Regions from separate parts of the Homo sapiens genome. Here region 1 is linked to region 2. The links are contacts of gene promoters, found by promoter capture Hi-C in blood cells and fetal thymus (Javierre and others, 2016). All regions are on one chromosome and are shown on one strand. The core of a region is centred on a gene start or on the middle of the fragment in contact, and the rest is flanking DNA. Distances in the headings are between cores, read along the strand shown.

What was found. The method cuts DNA at HindIII sites, captures the fragments that hold promoters and counts their contacts. A CHiCAGO score of 5 or more calls a contact.
Region 1: a contact is called between a fragment that was not itself captured here and the fragment with the promoter of VASP in region 2, in 1 of 17 cell types (total CD8 T cells). The highest score is 6.5, in total CD8 T cells.

Annotation. Positions count from the first base shown.
Region 1 is chr19:54,189,565-54,195,653 of GRCh38, forward strand. It overlaps MBOAT7 (membrane bound acylglycerophosphatidylinositol O-acyltransferase MBOAT7), which reads right to left and starts at 16. Exons shown (of 8, transcript NM_024298.5): 1 at 1-16. It overlaps TSEN34 (tRNA splicing endonuclease subunit 34), which reads left to right and starts at 1,744. Exons shown (of 4, transcript NM_001077446.4): 1 at 1,744-2,043; 2 at 2,157-2,400; 3 at 2,552-2,809; 4 at 3,611-4,968. The coding sequence starts at 1,801. The coding sequence ends at 3,798. RefSeq lists enhancers at 1-29, 30-711, 2,680-3,196 and a silencer at 1,634-1,835. The HindIII fragment of the contact is 1,746 bases long and covers 378-2,123 here.
Region 2 is chr19:45,505,448-45,511,703 of GRCh38, forward strand. It overlaps VASP (vasodilator stimulated phosphoprotein), which reads left to right and starts at 2,032. Exons shown (of 13, transcript NM_003370.4): 1 at 2,032-2,329. The coding sequence starts at 2,325. It overlaps LOC107985314 (a long non-coding RNA gene), which reads right to left and starts at 1,927. Exons shown (of 2, transcript XR_007067269.1): 1 at 1,238-1,927. RefSeq lists silencers at 1,093-1,342, 1,373-1,502, 2,183-2,362, 2,957-3,156, 3,967-4,096 and enhancers at 1,697-2,481, 1,763-2,032. The HindIII fragment of the contact is 2,487 bases long and covers 797-3,283 here.

The DNA of each region.
Region 1 (6,089 bases), core at 1-2,500, 8.7 Mb after region 2:
AGTCCAGGTCCACACTGGGATCCGAGCTCCGAGTACGTGAAGGGGCGGGCCTTCGGGCTCGGAACAAGGAGGAGCCAAAAGCTTTGGACCCGAAGGGGAACAGACGGGCTCTGGAAAGGAGGCGGGGTCTGGAGCTCGGCGTGAGGAATGAGGCGGGGTCTCCCTTCGGGTTCCTTCGGGCACAATCGGGAGCTTGAGTTCTCCGGAAGCGGGGCCACAAACTTCGGCTCACTTCGGCAATAGTCGAGAACGGAGAGCTGAGGCCACTGTGGGCGGAGCCACATGTTTCGGCTTTCTTCGGAGGTAGTCGAGTCCTTAGGGTCACTGTTCCGATGTGGGCGGGGCCACAGACTCGGCCGGATGTGGGTGGGGCCACAAGCTTCGGTTTACTTCGTAGATAGTTGGGTACAAGTGACGCTAGGATGATAGGCGGAGTCAACAGGTTCGCCAGACACCCATGAGTATTTACAAGGGGGCGGGGCGAAAGCGACTTGCCCTCAAAGGGGCGGAACCCCGAGGGCCGGCGTGCGCCTACGGGACCGGGCCAGGATGACGATCCTCAAGTTCCCAAGTAGAGGAGAGGAAGCGGCAGAGGGAGGTGCGCTCAGTGGGGCGGAGCCAAGGTGGCCCCCGCGGGAGGAGGGCGGGGCTTCGGTCCTGCGAGGGGCGGGACCTGACTTCCCGCGGCGCTGATGGGGCGGGATGACGAAGTTGACGAGGGTGTCGGCATGAGGGGGTGGAGCAAGGAGCGCGTGGCGCGGTGCGCAGTGGGTGGCTCCACCTCGACTGCGAATTACTGTTTATGAGGTGACTCGCTGGTTCTATCGGTGGACAGTGGGACATTCTGAAGGGAGGCAAGGAGGCGGACTGAGCGCTCCCAATTGGGGTGAGCCCGCCCGAGCGGAGAGTGGACGGCGGGTGTCCAGGGGGCGGGGCTTTCGGCTGTGGGGTTCGGTCGTAGGGCGGGAACTCCCCAACTGGGGTGCGCTGGCGCTCGGAGGGGGCGGGGCCACAGGCCGCGAGGCTGCCGGGAGCCGATGACGCCCGAACGCCGAACCTATTGCGTCCGGGAGGAGGCGGGGCTACGGATTCGGCCGAGCCGAGAACACCCGAACGTCAAATTGCTGGCGTTCGAGAAGGGGGCGGGGCTGCGGATTCGGTGGAGCCGAGGACGCCCGAACGCCGAACTTCCTGTGCTCGGGAGGGGGCAGGGTTTTGTACTGTGGGAGTCTGAGAGCGAGGAGGTCCGAAAGCCGAATCACAGTCGTTCGGAAAGAGGAGGAGCGAAGGCTCGAGCGTCCGGAAGAGGGTGTGGCCTCGGCGGTGCCTTAGCCTCCAGAGCTTCTGACCGCTGACGGGAACACCCGAAGGGGGACGCCCACTTTGCAAGAGGGTGGTGCCAAAATGGACCTTTGTAAGGGGGCGTGTCGCCGCGCTTGCGGAGGTTTGTTTTTCACGCTCCAAGGCGCAATGGTAGGTACGGCAGTGCGGGCACAGAGCGGGTGCCGACCGCAGGGTCACAAGGGTAGAGCGGGACCCTGGGGGCTTGGCGAGGGGAGAGGGTCGGGGGCTTGTCTCCGGCGTCTCGTCTCCGGCGGCCGCGAGGCCTGGTGGGATCGCCCGGGGGCGGGGCCTGGCGCTCGGGCCCAGCAGGTGGTGAACGGCGGCTGAGCGAGGCCCCGCCCCCTGAGGCCTAGGGGCGGGGCTTCGCCGAGACCCCGGAGGCTTTGGGTGCGCTGCAGCGGTCCGCGGCGCGCAGCTGTTTCGGTAACTGCTTTGCCTCCCGGCTCCCGCAGGAGGATGCTGGTGGTGGAGGTGGCGAACGGCCGCTCCCTGGTGTGGGGAGCCGAGGCGGTGCAGGCCCTCCGGGAGCGCCTGGGTGTGGGGGGCCGCACGGTAGGCGCCCTGCCCCGCGGGCCCCGCCAGAACTCGCGCCTGGGCCTCCCGCTGCTGCTGATGCCCGAAGAGGCGCGGCTCTTGGCCGAGATCGGCGCCGTGACTCTGGTCAGCGCCCCGCGTCCAGACTCTCGGCACCACAGCCTGGTAAGGGGGCGGGGCTCGAACTCGGGTTCGGTGGGAGCGGGACCTGGGAGTCAAGTTTCCTGGCTTCTGAAGGGACCATAAGCTTGGAGGTTCCAGCGAAGTGTGCTTCTCAGGCCCTGACATCCTTCAAGCGCCAGCAAGAGGAGAGCTTCCAGGAGCAGAGCGCCTTGGCAGCTGAGGCCCGGGAGACCCGTCGTCAGGAGCTCCTGGAGAAGATTACGGAGGGCCAGGCTGCTAAGAAGCAGAAACTAGAACAGGCTTCAGGGGCCAGCTCAAGCCAGGAGGCCGGCTCGAGCCAGGCTGCCAAAGAGGATGAGACCAGTGATGGCCAGGCTTCGGGAGAGCAGGAGGAAGCTGGTGAGCATGGGAGGTGGAGTCCAGGGACCACGGGAAGGAGAGGAGAGATCTTTTAGGAATTTTAGCTGGGAATCCAGTGCCTGGGTCTCCCTGAGGGTGAGAAGACTTTACCCCTTGAATTTACCAAACTCTTCTCTGTACTCCCCACCAGGCCCCTCGTCTTCCCAAGCAGGACCCTCAAATGGGGTAGCCCCCTTGCCCAGATCTGCTCTCCTTGTCCAGCTGGCCACTGCCAGGCCTCGACCGGTCAAGGCCAGGCCCCTGGACTGGCGTGTCCAGTCTAAAGACTGGCCCCACGCCGGCCGCCCTGCCCACGAGCTGCGCTACAGTATCTACAGAGACCTGTGGGAGCGAGGCTTCTTCCTCAGTGCGGCTGGCAAGTTCGGAGGTGACTTCCTGGTCTATCCTGGTGAGTATGGGTTGGGGCCTCTGGTTGCTGTGCCTTTCCATACGATCCCAATGTATTCTGCGTTTTTCTTTTTTTTTTTTTTTGTCTTAATAGAGGTGGGGTCTCTTGTTGCTTAGGCTGGTCCCTATTCCTGGGCTCAAGCAATCCTTCCACCTCGGCCCCCCAAAGTGCTGGAATTATAGGCCCAGCTGCATTTTTCTTTTTTGTCTCACTTTCTCTTAGCCTCTGAAATTCATAGACAGACAGGAAACATTTGGGAGCTCCCGAACTCATTGGGCAAGCAGTTTAACGACTTTTATTAAATGATTACTGTGATCCAGAAGATTCACTTAGAAGTAGTTAGACATCAGGCTGGGCGCAATGGCTCACGCCTGTAATCCCAACACTTTGGGAGGCCAAGACAGGTGGATCACCTGAGGTCAGGAGTTTGATACCAGTCTGGCCAACATGGTGAAACCCCATCTCTACTAAAAATACTAAAACTAACTGGGCGTGGTGGTGGGTGCCTGTATTTCCAGCTACTCGGGAGGCTGAAGCAGGAGAATCATGTGAACCCAGGGGGCAGAGGTTGTAGTGAGCCAAGATCGTGCCATTGCACTCCAGCCTGGGGGACAAGAGCGAGACTTTGTCTCAAAAAAAAAAAAAAAGCCTAGAAGTGGAATAGTTGTGTCCAAGAGCATCTGTTTTAGAGTATCTATAGTGATGGCTGAAATGATCTCAGATCTCCTCCCAGTGGTCGTTCCCGTGGCGTCCAGCCGTCTGCCATTGGTCACTGCTTCAGTGCCTCTCTCCTTCCCCCAGGTGACCCCCTCCGCTTCCACGCCCATTATATCGCTCAGTGCTGGGCCCCTGAGGACACCATCCCACTCCAAGACCTGGTTGCTGCTGGGCGCCTTGGAACCAGCGTCAGAAAGACCCTGCTCCTCTGTTCTCCGCAGCCTGATGGTAAGGTGGTCTACACCTCCCTGCAATGGGCCAGCCTGCAGTGAACTCCAGAGACCTAGGGGATGTGGCTGTGTCGGCAGCAAGAGCCTTTCTGGATGTTCCCCAGCTCTTCTCTGGGAGTCTAGAACATCCTCCTACCTTTCTCCGCGGTTAGTTTTTGATTCCAGGTTTTCGAACACTACATCTTTTTTATGTTCTTCCTTGTTTCAAAGCACTTATTGGCTGTGTTTTTGTAGTTACCTATTTTCACACTGTGAGCTTCCCGAGAATGGGGCCTGGGTTTGATTCATCTGTTTTCTACAGGGTTTAAGTCTCAGGAGGTCTCAATAAACTTGGTATATAAATGTTCATGATTTGAATGTTTGCGACAGTCCTGGAACCCGTGGATGGTCTCATCTGCATGTACAGGTGAGAAAAAGGCCTGGAGGAGGGGGACTGACTTGCCCAAAGTCACACACTTAGTAAATAGCAGGCCTGGCCTTTCAAAATTGGTTTTTCTGACTCCTAAATCTGCACTCTTTCTACCTCACTAAACTTCCTTTTGAAAAGATTTCTATGAAATTTCCCAGATGCATACAAACGTTATAAATAAAAATATAGGCTGGGCACGATGACCCACACCTGTAATCCCACAGAACTTTTGGAGGCCAAGGCAGGGGGATCGCTTGAGCCCAGGAGTTTGAGACCAGCTCTGGCAACATTGTAATACCCAGTCTCTACAAAAAATAATTTAAAAAAAAATTAGCCAGGGATCCCTTGAGCCTGGGAAGTTGAGGCTGCTGTGAGCTGTGATTGCACCACTGCCCTCCAGCCTGGGAGACAGAGCAAGAACCTGTCTCAAAAAATATATATATGTGTGTGTGTATATATGTAAATATACACACATGTATGTATATATATGTGTGTGTATATATATATATATTATGAAAGGAAATGAGTATTGTAATTTTAGGAGTTCAGAGCCTGGGGAGAAAGGAAGGACTCTGGAAGGCGTTCTGCTTTTTCATGGCCTGGGTAGTGGTGAATTTTTTTGATACTGTATATTTATATTTTAGACTCTTTTTTGGATGTGTTATATTCTGCAATTTTTATAAAAGCTAAAACACATGTATTTGTAAAAAATTTGCACTTATGAAATCATTTACCCATGTTTTTGCTTAAGAAAGTACTAGAACACTACCACTATTCCAATAATTACACCTTTATCTTATCAATGTGCAGTTTTATTTTGTCACGTTTATTTTGTCAGTGTAATACATTCACATGGTGAGTCTGGGCGTGGTGGCTTATGCTTGTAATCCCAGCACTTTGGGAGACCAAGGCGGGCGGATCATGAGGTCAGGAGTTCCAGAGCATCCTGGCCAACATGGCCCGCCTCTATGAAAAATACAAAAATTAGCCGGGCGTGGTGGCGGGCGCCTGTAATCCTAGCTACTCCGGAGGCTGAGGCAGGAGAATCACTTGAATCTGGGAGGTGGAGGTTGCAGTGAGCCAAGGTCACGCCACTGCACTCCAGTCTGGGCGACAGAGCTAGACACTGTCTCAAAAAAACAAAAACAAACAAAAACTTCCACATGGTAAAATTCTGGGGCTGAAAGTCTCCACCTCTAGTTCTTCCATTTCTTCCCCCCATGTTTCATTCTTTCTCTTTTTTGTGTGAATTGAGCAGCCTCTGGAACCAGAATAGGTTTAGAGAGACTCCCATCTCCCCTCTTTCTTGCCATTCCCAGTAAACAGACTTCATAGAATCTCAATTTCCTGTAAGTTTAGATTAATTTAAAATATGACACTGGGCCAGGTGTGGTGGCTCACACCTGTAATCCCAGCACTTTGGGAGGCTGAGGTGGGCAGATGAGTTTGAGATCAGCCTGGCCAATATGGTGAAACCCCATCTCTACTAAAAATACAAAAAAAAAAATTAGCCGGGCGTGGTGGCATGCGCCTGTACTCCTAGCTACTCAGGAGCCTAAGGCAGGAGAATCACTTGAATCCGGGAGGCAGAGGTTGCAGTGAGCCAAGATCGCACTACTACACTCCAGCCTGGGCAACAAGAGCTAAACTCCATCTCAAAAAAATGAAAAGAAAAAAAATGACGCTAACCCCTGTCTGGCCAATACTCTCTTTGTGCCTGCTTCATAATTGGCTTTGTAAGTCTATTCTCCACCCTTTCTCCTCTCTACAACAAAGTACTTAGAAGTCTCATTCCCTCTGTCATGAGTCTCTCCTCTGAAAAGTTCCTCATTTAAAACTCCTGTGGCCAGATGTGGTGGCTCAGACCTGTAATCCTAGCACTTTGGGAGGCCAAGGTGGGAAGATCAGTTGAGCCGCTGAGCTC
Region 2 (6,256 bases), core at 782-3,281:
ACAAAAAATTAGCCTGGCATGGTGGTGTGGACCTACAGTCCCAGCTACTCAGTGGGCTGAGGTTAGAGGATCGAATGAGCCCTGGTTATGCTACTGCGCTCCGGCATGGGCAACAAAGACCCTGTCTCCAACAAACAAACAAACAAAAAACCATGTTTGCTGACTGTTGTTGTAGTGTAGGTGGCACCCAGAAATGCCACCCCTCCTATGTCACAGATGGGAAAGCTGAGACCCAGAGAGGAGAACACAGTTACCCAAGGTCACACTGAACTGGTAACTCATTCAACTAGGTAAGTTTGTTGAGCTGCTGAGCCGGGCGGGCCTGGCTGGGGTGAGTGAGGTCCAGAAATTGATTAAGTCAACTGGGTGCAGTGGCTCATGCCTGTAATCCTAGCACTTTGGGAGACTGAGGCAGGCAGATCACCTGAGGTCATAAGTTTGAGACCAGCCTGGCCAACATGGTGAAATCCCATCTCTACTAAAAATACAAAAATTAGTTGGGCTTGGTGGCCCGTGCCTGTAATCCCAGCTACTTTAGGAGGGTGAGGCAGGAGAATTGCTTGAACCCAGGAGGGGGAGGTTGCAGTAAGCGGGGATCGAGCCAGCGCCCTCCAGCCTGGGTGACAGCGAGAGACTACATCTCAAAAAAAAAAAAAGAAAAAAAGAAATTTAGTCTACCCATTCTCCCAGACAACTCAGCCTGAGGAAACACACTGAGAAACAATGATAACCTCCGAGGAACAGGGTTCAAGGTCTCCCAGAGTGGGGTGGAGAAGGGGAGGGGAATTAATGTCAAAGCTTGGCCTGGAAGGATGACGTGCTCCCCAGGTAAAGGAGGTCAGGACAACATCAACATCCGGACATGGGACTCGGCTTGGACATACGCTGGAAAAGTGGATTCTCTCACATAGTCAGCTGGCCCTGAGAATTGTTGGTTTTACACTCAGACCTTGGTGGCTTTCCGGGTTCTGGGGGCTCAGGCAAGAGGGCCATAGGCCAGATTCATTCCCTGTCTCCAGGCCTCAGTTTACCCGTGTGTAAATGTGGAACTAACTGATTTCCCAGGGCTCGGGCGCCTCACCCGGGCCAGGTGGCGCTCTACCCAAGGGGCGCGACCAAATCAGTGACGTCACTCGGGGCGGGGCCGGCAAGACACGCTGCGGAAGCCTCAGAGGGTGTCTGGGCTCAGCCCGGAGCCGGCGTGTGGGGGCGGGGGCTCCCGGGAGGGTCTCCTCACCTCCGGGCCCTCCTGAGGGCTGGGATGATCCTGCTGTCCTCCGCAGGCGAAACTGAGTCAGAGCGGGGCGTGCGTGGGCCGGAGGCTTTACACACCAAAGAAGCCGGCGCCTCCTGCCCACCCCGGGCGAATGCCGGGCCCCCCACTCCCGCACTCCTCGCCAGTCCCCACCTCCACCCCACCCCACCCCCGACCCTGCGGCTGTGAGTCAGCGACCGACCGCGCCCCCTTGGCCCACTTCCTCCTCACCTTCCCGGGGCGGGCGGGGTGGGGTGAGAGGGGTTGGGCCCTACTCCCCCGACTTCCACTCCCGTGCGGGTGGGGGTCTCGCCCCCTTAGTAACCTCTCCGAAATTGACAGAAGAGAAACGCTGGGGAGGGGCGGTGTTCCGAAGATGGGATTTCAGGGAGAAAATCTGAGACCACTTGCTTAACTTGAGGGTCCTCCTCGACCCCCAAAATTGAGCGGAGTACGAGATGGAGAAGTCGATGGGGAAAGAAATCGCGCCCCTTCCGAGACCCTCCTCAGAATTCCCACAGTGGGAGCGAACTAGGAAGCAAGGGAGGTCCCCTTCCCCTTCACCAACTTGCCCCTCAGGTGGGGGTGATTCCCAGGGTGCACCCCTGGGCTACAACATTGGGGAGAGGAGCGAGATCGCGGAAGCCGAGGGTGCAGAGTTGCCCTTTTAAGCGCCCTCCACCCCCTCGCCTGGAGGCGCACGCGGCCCCTTTAAGGCGCGGGGCATTGTGGGTGCGGGGAGTGGAATTTTGGAACGAAATGTAACGAAGAGAAGTACAGTAGTAAGAGTAACACTGTAGCCGCCACCGGCAAGGGGTGCGCGCTGGGGAGCGGACGCTGCATCCCCTTTCTGCTGCAGGAACCTCTCATCAGACCGCCTGAGGGAAGCGGCGCCCGGAGACCCGCCCCGGCCCGGTCCACATTCTCCCCAGGAAGCCGGACTCTATGGGGCGGGACCCTGGGGGAGCCTGAGCCGAGCCCGGAGCCAGCCCCGAACCCCTGAACCTCCAGCCAGGGGCGCCCCGGGAGCAGCCAGCCCGTGGGCGAGCCGCCCGCCCGCCGAGCAGCCATGAGGTGAGCCGGACCTGCCCCCCGACCCGTCCCCGCCCGGGCGGGCTCCGCGCCCCGCCTTTGTCCCCCTCCCCCCCAGCTAGCTCCGGGCTGGAATTTGGGGACAGATCCTTGGGAGCCTCGGATTTGAGCTGAATCCCCTTGGACGCGCCCCAGAACCGTCGATCACTTCTCCACGACTGACTCCCCAAGCTCGGGGGGTGGTGGCGGTGAGGTTCTCCTGGGAGCCCTCAAGATTTGGGGGCGCTCGGAGGACTCCCGAATTGTTAAGACTTTTTTTAGAGGACCTCAAAGTTGGCAGCGACTCCCCGCAGGGATGCCAGGATTGAGGCAGGGCTCAGACTCTCCTCCCCCTCCCCCCAGACTTCAGCTCGAGGTCCGGGAAGGATTGTGGGGGACCGATTTGGGATACCCTGGGACTTGGAAGAGAGACTGAGACTCAGACCCTGGGTGTGCAGGTCCCCCGTTTACTTGGTGCTGGAAAAAGTCTCCCCAAGTGGGACCGCGCTCCATAACTTCGGGGGTACTTCTTAATCCCCTGGATTTTGGGGGTCACTTAGGTCTTCCTGTGGAGGAGGCTGGTGTGAACCGATCCAGGGACCTGGACGCAGCCTCCAGAGTCTGGTGGGACCCCCCCCTTCCCCGTCGCTCCGCACACAATCTGCTTAACTGGCCGTGCCTAGGACCGAGCGGGCGCTCGGAGCAGAGGGCGGCTCCCCGCCTCCGGCCATAAGGGCGGCCCGGCTCCCCCACCTGCGCGGCCCTGGAGAGGGAGGGGGCGCGGCAGCTGGGGGAAGGGGGCCTTTGTCTTCCTGACTCACCTGTCGAGACAGCTGGTGTGGGGGGCGGGCACCAAGCGCTGTAGGCCGGCTGCCTTCCCCACCACGGCCCCTCCCCCTTTGCTCACCGTCCCCCTATCCACCCGGAGCCTTGGGGTTGGAGGAGGGGGAGCTGGAAAGCTTCAAGGTCATAGCCCTCTTCCCTAGGGACCCAGGCTTCCCAGATAATTCCAGCTATCTTCCCAGGAATTTAATCCTGGGGGTGGCGGCCCAAGGGACCCAGGGATTTGGTCTGGCCGGGGCCTCCCCCGAACTCCTGGGCTCACCTGAGGGCGGGGCCAGTGTGGGCAGGGGGGCCCAACCATCCCCCCTATTCTTCCCTCCCCTGGCCCCCCATAATCTCTCCCATGGGGCCAGAGCCTGACAATACTATCTCCCTTCCTCTACTCTCTCTGGGACTTCCTGCCCCAAAGCCCCCAGCCTGAGCAGGGAGGCCCCTGGGGACGGTTGGGGATTAACCCCGTGGTGCCCACATCCCCCGCATTTCCTGAACCCCTGCCCTTTGACATCGGAGTGGCGTGGCATTCCTTTTTATGACCACTAGAGAATCCCCCTCCCGCGTTTGTTCCTTCTGATGTGAAAGGCATGGCTGGAAAATTTGGAGCAAGGAGGACACCCACAGATACCCTCAAGACTTCCTGCCTATCCGCTCCCCATTATAGCAACATCCCTTCCAAGTCCGCCCTGGAGAGGGGTCAGTTTAGGGAGCGTCGCTCTCTTCCTTCGCCCTCTTCCTCCGGGACTCTTCTCTCCCCTTGCCCCCCAGCCCCGCCCCTCCACCCCCCCTCGCGTTTCCGGTCCCAGGCTCGGTGGAAGGCGGATGGCGGATGTCCGAGTTAGTGCTGCCTCACTCACTGCAACCGTAAAAGGGCAGGAGCGGTGTCTGGGCCGGCCCCCTGTCCTCCCCACCACCACCACCACCACCAGCACCAGCCCTGGAAGCCCTGGCCCTCCCACAAGGCCCACCTCTTGCTGTGGTGGTGGCCAAGCATCCCGTCTTGTGGGGGTGCTGGGGTGGGGTGCGGTGCAGAAATGACCAGATGCCTGTCCCACCAAAAGGCCACTCCCACCTTTCCAGGGGGTCTCCCCTGCAGGTGGTCACACCCGACTTCCTGGGCTGTGCCTCTTCTCCAAGGACAGCCAGAATTCAAAACCCATGCCCCTATTACCCAGCTGGGGAAACTGAGGCTCAAAGAGAAAAAGACATGGCCAAGATCCCTCAGAAATTCCTAGGCAACGTTGGAGGGGTGGAGGAGCCTAGGATCCTCTGATTTCTGGCTGGTTTGGCTGGGGACAGTCCTGGGGGCAGTTGGAAGAGAGGATGTTAAGATGGAAAATTACAAGATATAGTTCTTTTTCTCCCAGTTTGACAAATATTTGTTGAGTGTTGGCTGTGTCCGGGACTGGAGCTGGGGTGCTGGGAAGACAGAGAAGCGAGGCAGAGGTCTAGAATCTCAGGGCAGAAGGGACTTGGGGAGAACTGGGGTCCATTTCTTTCTTCTTCCAATAATAGCTATTTTTATTTTTAAAAAATAAGAGACCATTTGATCAAGCATCTATTTTATGTGGGGCATTTTTGTGCCTGACAGCAATTCTGGCTGGTTTTTTTGTTGGTTTGTTTGTTTGTTTTGAGACGGAAATTTTGCTCTTGTTGCCCAGGCTGTTGTGAAATGGCATGATCTCGGCTCACTGCAACCTCCGTCTCCTGGGTTCAAGCGATTCTCCTCCTCAACCTTCCGAGTAGCTGGGACTACAGGTGCCTGCCACCATGCCCGGCTAATTTTTATATTTTTAGTAGAGATAGGGTTTCACCGTGATGGCCAGGCTGGTCTCGAACTCTTAACCTCAGGTGATCCACCCGCCTCGACCTCCTAAAGTGTTATTATTACAGACGTCAGCCACCACACCTGGCCCCTCATGGCAGTTCGAACAATGATACTATTACAACCTTGTGGCCTCCCCACCCCGGTACTCAGTTTATAGATGGGGAAACTGAGGCACAGGAAAGTTAGGCAAGGTGCCTATTAAACTCAAACAGGGCCAGGCGCCGGGGCTCATGCCTGTAATCCTAACACTTTGGGAGGCCAAGGCAGAAGGATCGCTTGAGCCCAGGAGTTTGAGAACAGCCTGGGCAATATGGTGTAACCCCGTCTCTACAAAATATACAAAAATTAGCTGGGTGTGGTGGCATGCGCCTGTAGTTCCAGCTACTCTGGAGGCTGAGGCGAGAGGATCGTTTGAGCTGGGGAGGTTGAGGCCGCAATGAGTCATATTCTTGCCACTGCACTCCAGCCTGGGTGACAAAGTGAGACCCTGTCTCAAAAAAAAAAAAAAAATAGAGATAACATGCTTTCCGTGTTCTTAATGAAGAAAAAGAAAAAAAAAAAGGAACGTGCTTTCACTGTGAAAACTCTTAAGATAATTCAGATAAGCCAAATGAAACCGAAGCTGCAACATTTATCTTCCTATTCACTTATGGGAAACTGAGGCCCACCAGGAGGAAGGGACTAGAGTAGCCCCATCCCCGACAAAAGAAGATTTGTCGTTTGGAAGGGTGGTGTATATGTATCATAGGTTTTATGGTATAAGGAGGGTATGGGCTAAGTCTTGGGTTCAGGGGACAGTGAAGGGAAGGGTAAGACTGCAAGTTTTGTGAAAACCGGATTCACCATGCTTGATTACCTCTGGTGATGGGAAGCTCTCTCCTTCATGTGGAGCGTGTACCAAGTTACAGTTCCTGCGTTTAGGGCTTTTTGTCCATTATCTCTTTTAATCCTTACAATGAACCCAGTGAGTTATTGTTTCCAGGGCTGGAAACTGAGTTTCAGAGAGGCAAAGCCACACAACAAGGAGGCAACTTGAACCGTCTTTTCATCCGCCATGTGCTAGAGTTTTCCAAAATGTGGGGACTTGCAGGGAGGAGTGGGTCCTGGGCTGGCTGGAAAATTAAAGTGTTCTCATGTCCAATGGAGGGTTCTAGACTTCGGGAAAACACACTGGAAATGGGCAGAACTCCTTTCCATCTCACAGCCCCCGCACCCCCGTTTTATGGCTATGGGATTTTCGTTCTGGCTTTTGTGTAGTTTACAGT